Regions from separate parts of the Homo sapiens genome. Here regions 1, 3 and 4 are each linked to region 2. The links are contacts of gene promoters, found by promoter capture Hi-C in human tissues and cell types (Jung and others, 2019). All regions are on one chromosome and are shown on one strand. Each heading gives the region's core, a stretch centred on a gene start or on the middle of the fragment in contact. The rest is flanking DNA. Distances are from core to core; before and after follow the strand shown. Region 1 overlaps SLC25A21 (solute carrier family 25 member 21). Region 2 holds the start of PAX9 (paired box 9). Region 3 overlaps SLC25A21 (solute carrier family 25 member 21). Region 4 overlaps LOC105370453 (a long non-coding RNA gene).

The links. The method cuts DNA at HindIII sites, captures the fragments that hold promoters and counts their contacts. A contact is called where the count stands out against the background at its distance.
Region 1: a contact is called between a fragment that was not itself captured here and the fragment with the promoter of PAX9 in region 2, in 1 of the 25 tissues and cell types used here (small bowel).
Region 3: a fragment that was not itself captured here is called in contact with the fragment with the promoter of PAX9 in region 2 in 3 of the 25 tissues and cell types used here (H1 embryonic stem cells, pancreas and thymus).
Region 4: a contact is called between a fragment that was not itself captured here and the fragment with the promoter of PAX9 in region 2, in 1 of the 25 tissues and cell types used here (pancreas).

Annotation. Positions count from the first base shown.
Region 1 is chr14:36,877,614-36,880,313 of GRCh38, forward strand. The region is part of intron 1 of SLC25A21 (solute carrier family 25 member 21); the gene reads right to left. Among named protein-coding and RNA genes, the nearest start is that of MIR4503, 73 kb to the right of the region's middle. The HindIII fragment of the contact is 6,338 bases long and covers 1-2,700 here.
Region 2 is chr14:36,660,410-36,663,109 of GRCh38, forward strand. It overlaps PAX9 (paired box 9), which reads left to right and starts at 1,451. Exons shown (of 4, transcript NM_001372076.1): 1 at 1,451-1,684; 2 at 2,488-2,700. The coding sequence starts at 1,681. RefSeq lists a promoter at 185-1,382, a cis regulatory region at 642-1,154 and enhancers at 1,919-2,430, 2,431-2,700. The HindIII fragment of the contact is 9,466 bases long and covers 1-1,535 here.
Region 3 is chr14:36,817,636-36,820,335 of GRCh38, forward strand. The region is part of intron 2 of SLC25A21 (solute carrier family 25 member 21); the gene reads right to left. Among named protein-coding and RNA genes, the nearest start is that of MIR4503, 130 kb to the right of the region's middle. The HindIII fragment of the contact is 4,329 bases long and covers 1-2,700 here.
Region 4 is chr14:36,531,807-36,534,666 of GRCh38, forward strand. All of the region lies in intron 1 of LOC105370453 (a long non-coding RNA gene), which reads left to right. It also overlaps the pseudogene PHKBP2. Among named protein-coding and RNA genes, the nearest start is that of NKX2-1, 13 kb to the left of the region's middle. The HindIII fragment of the contact is 3,563 bases long and covers 1-2,860 here.

The sequences.
Region 1 (2,700 bases), core at 77-2,576, 220 kb after region 2:
TTATGGGAGCACCTCAGAGAGAGGCCCCTGACCTAGCATGGGAGCAGGTGAGGGGTAGGGAAGGGATTCAAGGCAGACAGAGGACAGCATGAGCATGAGGCATGGAGGAAAGATATTGCACAGAAAAAAGAAGAAAAGAGGCAAGAAGCACTTGAGCATTACAGCAGCCTAGGGTTGAAGGCAGGGTATGGCAAGAGATGAGGCTGGAAGTGTGCAGGTGAGGCTCAAGTTCATGTTTAGTCACTTCCACTTTATCCCATAGGCCACGAGGAGCCAGTGAAGGATTTTCTTTTTTTAATAGCTCTTGGTTGTTTTTTCTTATTACCAATGTACTCCATGTTTATTGAAGACATTTCGAGGAGTTGTAAGCAGAGGAGTGGTATTGACCTCTGCTAATGTGCTCTCCCAATAATCTAATCATCTTCTCCATTTAATCCCCGCAGTGCTCCCAATCACAGTTATTCACTTGCAAGTACAACAGCACTGATGTCCCAGCCCTCTCTCCATTGGTAAACAGTTTACCAGTAAAAACACCTTCTCTCATCATAGCATAGATGTCTTGGTGTCCCATGCACCTCTAGATTTGAGAGTCAATGGCCATCTATGAAACTACCTGCAAAACTGTGACATGGCCAAAAGGAAAATGGGACCTAAATGGTCAAATATAACATATTTGGTCCAGGATCTCTATGTGATTATTTATTCACTGTTATTTTTAGTCAAAACAAGTAATTTGTAGAATTTAAGTTAGTGATAAAATGCATTACAGGCAGAGAGAACAGAAATGTTGGAAATTATATGGAAGCTGTGACTTTAATCAGAGTTCAGAGTTAAATCTGGATTCACTCAGAGTGGGAATGGATGCTTGCTGTCCTCCACAGACAGCTAAAGACTGTGAGACCCTGATTATTATTTATGAAGATAACCATATAAATAGAATCAGATTAATCGTGTTACATAGGCCTAGAAGTGACCTCAAGAAACTGAGTGGTACCATGTGCTTATTGACAATTCTATGACCTACTATGAAGGCACAAACTAAATAATGAGCTAGTGAGCACAAATTTTAATAATTTCTCTATTCTCATAAAATTAAAAATCTAACATAGAAAAGAAGATGACTCTGAAATATCAGCTTCCATTTAATAATCCATCCTAATTGCGATTTTAAGACACTCTGATATCAAGACAAATAAGACCTAGAAGTATTGCTTTTACCAACCTGGCATTTATTACACTCACCAGCCACAGAGGAATTAAATGATTCAATCTCCCCTACTCATTCATGATATAAAAATTGTACTGCCAACCACCAACCATAGTAACACCTTCTCTGGGGAAAAAAGTTACAACTTCATAGTATTTGAGAAGGAATATGAAAAAAATACATAAGAACTTAAATATAAATTTAGATCAGTGCTTTTCTTAGACTCTCTAGCTGATTTTACATTTAAATTTGGTGTTTGATCTTAAAACCAGAAAAAAGTCATTTTAGAGATAAAATGTCTTCAAGTCATGCTTAATTTTAAATGGGCTGGACTATTTGTAACTTCCATTCATTTTGGGAATAAAAAGCAGAATCAAAACATAACCACATGACAGTATGAAAATAATTAGAAAAACATAAAACACATATTTTCTCAAATAACATACTACATTTCAGAAAGCTAAAAATGTTCCATATGTTATTTTTATTTCAGGCAACTGCTGATTTATCACAATAACAAGTAAACAAGAATTACTATTAGATTTGTTTAAACTAGACAAAATACTGATTTTATAAGGCTGAACATTATAAAAATTAGAAAAGCCCCAAAGCAGACTGATACTGTAAATTTAATATATTGTAAATGTTTTCATTGTTTCTGCAGATTCATGTCATGTTAGTGAGCATGACTATATCTCTAAGATTTGAATGAAACTGGTAATTTGACCCTACCACAGGCACAAAAATGCATGGGTTATCCCCTGAACTTTTACCTTGGGATAGCCCCTGGATGCCCTGGCCCTTGAACTGCCTCAAGTACATGCCTTCGCCTGAGCCAATATTGGGAAAAAATTAACACCACCATGTCATAAACCCTTCTCCCAGACTTCATCTTTTCTGAGAAGATCCCCTGGGCAGCCTGTTCAACCACAAAACTTGACTGATCATTAACACCACCCCCACCTTCCTCTGAAATAACCTGCACCACACTCTTTTCCAAAAAAAAAAAAGTACAAACATTGTCACACAATGATTAATCATGATTGGTGAGAGACCAGTTTCTTCTCAGTGTTCAATTCCTAGAACTTTTTCTTTACTCAGGAATGTTTTTCTTCCGTAAGGACACATGTACATATACTTCTGAGAATCCTACTAACCTTCAGATCTCAATTTAGGCAACCATTTTCCCAGAAATCCTGGGGCAAAGATGGTTAATTTTTCTCTTAGTAGGCATCCCCTCTTCTTCCTGGCCACTCAGAAAAAATATTGCATTTCCCAGCTTCTTTTGCTGCTCAGCATCACAATGTGACTAAGTTCTGGCCAAAGGGATGTAAGGGAAAGTGGTTTGAGCAACATCTGGGAAGTTTTTTAAAGAGAAGGAGCCTGGTCTTCTCTTTCTCCCATCTTACTAGTGGAATATGGACACAGGCTGCCATGTTAGACAACAAGGTAACTTTGGGCATAGAGGCCACACACAGCACAGCAACAAGACA
Region 2 (2,700 bases), core at 201-2,700:
TGGTGTTTTAGTTCATCTTTACCTTTCACATCCTCCATTCTGTTAGGTAATTTTGAATTTAGAGTGCATCCTAACCATAGAAGTGGGAATCTGGAGATCTGTTCCTTTGCAGAAGCATGGCTGATCATAGTTTTTTCCTGGGTTCTTGCAACTTACTGACCTGAGATCTGGGACCAGTCAGCTTCTCTGGGTGTAGACCGCAGCCACACACATCCCTGGGGACTGTTGGGGAAGCAGCCTGAATCCTGTGTGCACAAGGAGCCTTCTGGATTGTCAAGTAGCAGTAACAGAGTTCACGACCCCAAGCAGTACAAACTCCCAAATTCACGAAAATATTTCTCTTCTTGTTTATTATTTTGATTCACATTCTCCACAACCCTAACTGCAAATATTAATAACTTTGGCTGCAAAAAAGCATACGGTACACTTTAGATTAGACTTACAGTGAATAAAAGTGAAAATTCAGAAGTAGGCAGAACGACAGGGCCTCTGGAGCTTAATGGAAGACGAGGGAATTACATCCATGTGCAGCGTCGGTGTCCACTGTCTTGGGACTAAGTCTCTTTCATATTTAAACAAAACTCTTTCGAGAGGGCTCGCTGGTTTGGAGAACCCTCACAAACGCTGCCACCGAGGGCCAGGGGCCCAGGACAGTGGCTGAATGTGGCAGAGCCTTGGGCTCCGTAGTGAGTGCCCCACGCACTGGCAATTGGTCGACTTGGGGCTGTGCGCTAGCGTTAGCCGCCTGTGGTTCAGTTCCCCGCACACGGCGTGGCCCGTGCCTCGAGCCTGTGTGGCTAGTGGTTGGCCGGTCCACCTGGACTGGGGGGTCGCCGCAGGAAGCTGGCGGTAGGAGGAACCTCCCTGGCCTTAACAGTGGCCCCCACCTGTGGCTCGGGCTCCCCGCAACCTCCTGGTTTCTTTGGCCGGCCTATCTTCTCACACCTGCGCTCTCGCCACCTGGCATGGACTGAAGTGAGGTAGAATCGGCAGGTGACACAGATCCTCTCCTGACAGTCCCCAGAGGCCCGCATGACAGATTTTGCTAAGACAACTCCCTCACCCCTGTGCACGGTGGCGCCCGCCTCCCACCTATAGCCTTAACTTCAATTCTGAGATGTCCATCGTTCCCCGGAGGAGGTCTCCTCGGGCCCCTTCTCCCTTCGAGTCATTCACATTCAGACCAAACGCTTTCATTTGTTTATTCAGCATTTTACCAGCCTGATTTTGCTGTCTTTTTGTGCCGCTTCTGGGAAGATGTCAAACACCCATTTTCATTGTATTTAGTCACCCAGGTGGGGAGCTAGCCTGAAAGAGACAGCGGAAGGAGTTTCCTGGACTGCGCTGTCGCTCACCGACCCGCACCAATCACCATGCAGCTTGCCCTCGGACCCGCCCCTTTTAGGGCGTGTCCCCAGTGAGTGATAGACGGAGCCGCCCTGCCCTGCTCAGCCCAGCCCACGTTGCTGCTTAGATTGAAATGCAGAACTCAAGCCTCTTTCATCGGGGCACAGACTTCCTTTTACTTCTTCCTTTTGCCCTCTCGCCTCCTCCTCCTGGGAAGAAGCGGAGGCGCCGGCGGTCGGCCGGGATAGCAACAGGCCGGGCCACTGAGGCGGTGCGGAAAGTTTCTGTCTGGGAGTGCGGAACTGGGGCCGGGTTGGTGTACTGCTCGGAGCAATGGGTGAGTGGCGGCGGGGGACTCTGTCAGAGCCGGGAAGGGAGGGAGGGAGCGAGCGGGCAAGGGAGGGAGGGAGGGAGGGAGCGCGAGGGCGCGCGCCACTAGGCGCTCACATTCTCTATTGACTTTGCTCGTGTTCCTACAAGTTGTAGGAACACGCTAAGGGTCAGCGGCGCACAGCAGTTCAATGTGAACGCTGGCTACTGGGTGGCTGTTGATGCCATTTTCTGATTTTAAGAGAAGGGAGCTGTGGCATCAGCGAGCCCCTCAGCCCGAGTAGCAAACCAAGTTTTGTTTCACACGCGCGCACACATGCAAACAAAACAGGAAAAGAAAAGAAAAGAAAACAAACAACAACAAATAAAACACCCTCTAGCTTCCCCTAGACTTTGTTTAACTGGCCGGGTCTCCAGAAGGAACGCTGGGGATGGGATGGGTGGAGAGAGGGAGCGGCTCAAGGACTTTAGTGAGGAGCAGGCGAGAAGGAGCACGTTCAGGCGTCAAGACCGATTTCTCCCCCTGCTTCGGGAGACTTTTGAACGCTCGGAGAGGCCCGGCATCTCACCACTTTACTTGGCCGTAGGGGCCTCCGGCACGGCAGGAATGAGGGAGGGGGTCCGATTGGACAGTGACGGTTTGGGGCCGTTCGGCTATGTTCAGGGACCATATGGTTTGGGGACAGCCCCAGTAGTTAGTAGGGGACGGGTGCGTTCGCCCAGTCCCCGGATGCGTAGGGAGGCCCAGTGGCAGGCAGCTGTCCCAAGCAGCGGGTGCGCGTCCCTGCGCGCTGTGTGTTCATTTTGCAGAGCCAGCCTTCGGGGAGGTGAACCAGCTGGGAGGAGTGTTCGTGAACGGGAGGCCGCTGCCCAACGCCATCCGGCTTCGCATCGTGGAACTGGCCCAACTGGGCATCCGACCGTGTGACATCAGCCGCCAGCTACGGGTCTCGCACGGCTGCGTCAGCAAGATCCTGGCGCGATACAACGAGACGGGCTCGATCTTGCCAGGAGCCATCGGGG
Region 3 (2,700 bases), core at 24-2,523, 160 kb after region 2:
AGCACTTCGGCTACCTCAGGATGGCCATTGCACAATTGCATGGCCCTGGTTCCAGATGGGCCTGTGAACAAGTCAGCAGATGGGCCAGGCAAGCACGTCCTATGTCTAGATATTCAGCCTTAGCCTTTCCTTCCCTTCTGTGGTCAGAGACCTCAGCTTTGCCTATGATGTCTGCATGCTCAGGTAATTCCCAGGTGGGTTTTCTGACAGCTTGTGCAAACGTGTATACAGAGTATGATGATTTCACAAGTCTAGGCACTTCACTCACTAGTTGCAATTTCTTTTTCTCTTTGTAGAACCAAATAGATAATATTTCCAATCTATTGTTCATTCAGTTAATAAGAGTTCTTGAATACAACTATTTATTATACACTCTACTATTTGGGGGCTTACAAAGAAATAAGAAAAAGCCCTGCCTTGTAGAAGCTTTCAGTAAAGTGAAAGAGATGTGCAAATAGATGATTACCATACACAAAAACTATTGTTTAGAAATAGTGTTTCAGAGTATCAGATGCTAGCACCACTCTTATTGGGGATGATCGGCTATTTATGGGTGGGAAATAGTACTTTGCAGAGACAATGGAAGGGAAAGGGAGAGGGGAAATAAAGAAAGACTATCTTGGAGCTACATATCTGCAATTAAACTTTACCCACAGATTTTAGAACAGGCAACAAGAAAGGGCAGTCCATGAAATCCTTGAGGAGTGCTTCACTTAGGAGCTGACTGTCTGATGAGTGATGCTGAGTTAATTACAACCAGGAGCGGCAACATCAAAATAACATCACAGGAGCAGAGTCCATAAACTGTGTTGCATGAGCAATGCAAAAGGATGGGCAGGCATGGTAACTGCTAATGCCCCAGTAAAGCCTCCCTTCCATTCTTAACTATGCTAAAGCAGTGAGAGGCCCCATTACACAGGCTAAGGCAAGAACAGTTGTCTCTTCTACTGTGTATCTCACATACATCATGTCTACGCTTTGCAGAGAAAGTACTTGCAGTATTTGGTTGCAGTATTTTGTTCCATTACACATGACTTATTCTGATCACAGAGTTATCAGTTCTTCTCAGGAATCTGTTTCAAGTTGATATAATTATAGTGCATTTTGGTCAATCATGTAAAACAGCAATTTCCTTCTTCCTCTGCTCTACATTTCAGCAACTTAAAAGGTTTCTCTCTTGGATTGAAGCTTTACATCAGCATGTTCCAAGCTGCATTTTCTGCTAACAAATTCTCTCTACTTAGGGAGACAATTTTCCAGTTACATAATACAACCCCTTGTAAAATTACAAAGGCAAAGCCACACCACTCTTGATTGCATTTAGAAGACAGGGTTGGACTTCTCCATTGTCCTAATAAAAGCAGCTTAAATACATCTGGAATATCCATCTGAGTAACTTCTTTTATTAGGATGGAAACTTGCTGCCACACTGACAGAGTGGACAATGAAGTAACACTTGGGACATATTTGGTGCTTAACATCCGATCAGAATCACACACAACAGAAAGGAATGTGGCTCAAACCCTAGGCTGCATTGCAAAGGAGCCAGATACCTATCTGCCGCTGTTCTCATAGCCAAAGGACTGCACACACTTAACAAATGGGAGGAAACAGGCCCTGTCATTCACCAGCCACAATACTGAGTGAGTTACTGTGGTAGCCAACAGGGTAAGGAAGGGCTTTTCAATGTTCCCAAACAAATGTACAAGCATATTTTTTAAAGACAAAAAATGTTTGCACTAATTGAAGCATTTTTTTTTTCTAAATTAGCTGAGAATCATGACTGCAGCATTTCGCACTGTCTTCATTGTGTGCTCAGTGATATTCTATTTTAAACTAGTCTGTGACTCAGTCTCAGCATAGATATACCACTTCCACTTGTTTGAGTACTTCTGAAGATATGGCCAAAAGAAAGATATGCCTGTAAGAAATAAAATGGCTTTGCTGCCTTAAAAGTCTCAAGACAAGGGTGTTTGAAAATTATAAAATCTCAAATTTATGCAGTGCCTTTATTTCCAAAGTAATTTTACATCTATCATCTTCTTAACAAATACTGAACGAGTCTATTCTGGGGAGTGGAGGCTTTAGAAATATATTTGTACACTATACACTATATATGCATATATAGTATATATACATATATAACTTACATATTATACATTTGGTGCAAAAGTAATCGTGGTTTTGGCCATTACTTTTAATGGTGCCTAACACCCAATCTTTTAATGGCCAAAACCGCACTTACTTTTGCACCAACCTAATATAACTTATATATTCCTATCTTTATATGAATATGCAGTAATTGAATTGCAAAGGGTTGGATTGGGGTAGATGATAGGATTTGTCCTGAGGCTACATTTGCATAGCACACGACTCTGCTTTTTAGTTAGATCATATGATTATTTGGGGTGCTTTGGGAGAGGGAACTGATGGAGACTGGCAGTGGGAAGCCATTCCAAGCCACCCCTTTGGCACTGCCACCAATCCCTAAGCAAACCAGTGAGATAGGTAAAGAGCATTTCTGGCATCACCCCTGGATCACTTCTTAGTTCAGTAGTGTTCCTGTGCTCTCTTCTGCCTTCTCCCATTCAGCTCTGCTTTTGGAAACACATTCACATCCATCATTCATCCTTATTGTGACTTTTACTTTAATGTGCCATCCGTCAAAATGTGTCCTCTCTTATAGGGATTTCAGCTATC
Region 4 (2,860 bases), core at 330-2,829, 130 kb before region 2:
ATGTAGTAATAAGGAAAACACTGTGGGTAAGAGTATATTTACCAAGTTTATATGACTTTATTTTAGATTTCAGGGAGTGTGATTAATGAACCTGAAGAGTTTAAATTCTTGTTCGTAGTGAGGAAGATGACTTCTCAAAAGACAAAGTTAAGCATGGAAGTTTAATCTAAGACAGCACCTGTCAAACTTTGGAGTGCATAAGTATAACCCAAAAAGCTTGTTTTAAGTGTATATTCTTGAATGGGTGTTCTGAGTCCAGTAATAAAAAGTACATTATCTGACTATGCCTTTTTCAGATAATAATGATAAACTCTGGACAATACACACACACACACACACAAACACACACACAATTATTTGAAGGCACCAGAAAGTGGTCAAAAGAAGAAAGAAACTGAAGAAGTTTCTAGTCATAAATGGAACTACTCACTGGGTAAGAATTAAACTTACAAGGATATTCTACTGAGGACAATACTCATACCACAGAGCACAGGGCAAATAGAAGGTGAGCGAAAAAATCCAGTGTTTTTTATTTGAAGTGTGAGAGGATGGAGTCAGGGGCTGAAAGAATATCTGAAAGATTAAGGTAGGGAACTCCTAGAACAGAGGAATCTAGAGACTCTAAAATGTATTTTTCACAATGGCAGATTAAAATAAAAAATTACTAGGCATGTGAAGACATAGAAGATAATTTCCAAAATCAGAAGAGAATGCAGTCAATAGAAGCAAATCTCCAGGTTTGGAATTAGCAGAAAAGTACATTTAAAGAGGTATATATATATATATATTCGAAGACAAATTAAAATATGTCAATAACTGAACAAATTGGGGAACTCTATCAGAGAAATGGAAGCTATTTTAAAAATGAATTGAAAATTCTCTAAAGAGCTATAGCGTCTGAAATGGAAAAGAAAAATCTCTGGGATGAGCTGAAAGAAGATTGGCGACAGCAGAAGAGCCAACTTGAATATAGAATTTATCCAGTCTGAGAAGCAGAAGGAATAAAAATTAAAAACAAAAACAGCCCCAGTGATCTGTGGGACAATATCAAATGATCAGAAACATAAAGCAAATTTATTTTATGCCCTATTAGATCATTAAACACGCAGAGATCGGTCGGGCGCGGTGGCTCACTCCTGTAATCCCAACACTTTGGGAGGCTGAGGCGGGCGGATCACCTGAGGTCAGGCGTTCCAGACCAGCCTGGCCAACATGGCGAAACCCTGTCTCTACTAAAAATACAAAAATTAGCCGGGCATGATGGTGCATGTCTGTAATCCCAGCTACTCGGGAGGCTGAGGCAGGAGAATCGCTTGAACTCAGGAGGCGGAGGTTGCAGTGAGCAGAGATGGCGCCATTGCACTCTAGCCTGAATGACAAGAGTGAAACTCTGTCCCAAAAAAAGAAAAAAAACATGCAGAGATGAATTTTACATTTATAAATTATTTGTATCTTTCAGTGAATATTATTATTGTTGTTCGCATGGCCATCAAAATTTTTACCTCTGAATAAAGGCATTTCTTAACATTGGATTGGTTATAGCGTGGAAGAAATTCAATCACTCCACCAATGTTGTGGCAAATACCTCAAAAGCACGATCAGTCCTATCATTTATGGCTGCCTTGGTTAAGCTTCAAGAATAAAACTTAACACACTTCTAGACAATATACCTCAAAAGAGATTCTTCTACTTGCTTCACTAGCTAACCAAACAGAAATCATTATTGCTTGGCTTGGCTTCTCCTTCCAGCAGAAAATTAATCAACACCTTTGTTAAATATGCTGTATAGATTTCTCTTTTTTCTGGGGGAGTGGGGACACTGTTGTTAAAGTAAGTCATCTCACCTTGTTTTTCAGCTTCCTTTAGTTGAATCTCATATTTTTGAAATTCATGAAATGCTTCTTTCATCAGTTTGTCTAGATCTACTTTTTGTCTTGAAAGTCCAACTAAGAATTTTGTTTTCAGTATAACGGATATAACCATTAGTAACTCCACAGCGATCTGTCTGTATCTATATATTACTAGCTAGTTAATATTTCCCAACATATCTTAAACAAGAGAAAGAAATTCATAGAAGCCAGACACTCCTCCAATTATATTCTCTTCATATATGATTGTATCTCACAGGTTGGTTGCTATGGTATTTGATTCCTAGTTACCATGATACTATTAAGTGTTTGCTGCAGAATCTGCCATGCTTGGTCACAGAACTCAGTGAAAGTTCTATTAAAAGACTTATCAATTTGATGCCTGTTCAGTCAACGTCTTCCATTTTGTTGAGGCTGGAGAACCTCCAACAGAAGTTAAGCAAAGTTCAGTAGGTATTAAGCTGGGTCCTGCTTAAACTGGTGGACTTTATCAACCTGATGCATGCAACAGAAAGGAACAACTCTCATACATTTTAAAGCTGGGCTCATGGGTCCTTCCTGGTCATCATTAATGAGCCTTTATGTGAAAGTTAAAGCCCAAGCCCTAGAAGCACAGTATAGGTTGTACTTTATCTTGATATTCTGGTCAGCATCACATGATTTAATGGGAAAAAGACCTGTGGTTGGACTTTGAAACTGCAGCAATGTTGAGTTGACAGTTATTTCAAAATGATCCAGTTTATTCCACACAGTGTTTAATTATCAGATCTTGGAAGATTAATTATTTTAAGAGACTCGTAAACTGAGATAGACCTTAAGAAATTAGATAAAGAGGATATAACTCCATCAAGTGAGCTGGCAATGCCAAATTAGTGAATCTAATCATAAGCATCACAAGCTAAACTTAATGGTTGGCCTGGAAAGTCTCTGTTCCAGAAACCTCCAAGGTCACTTTGGACGTGAATACCACACTCCTACCATTGTACTCAGTT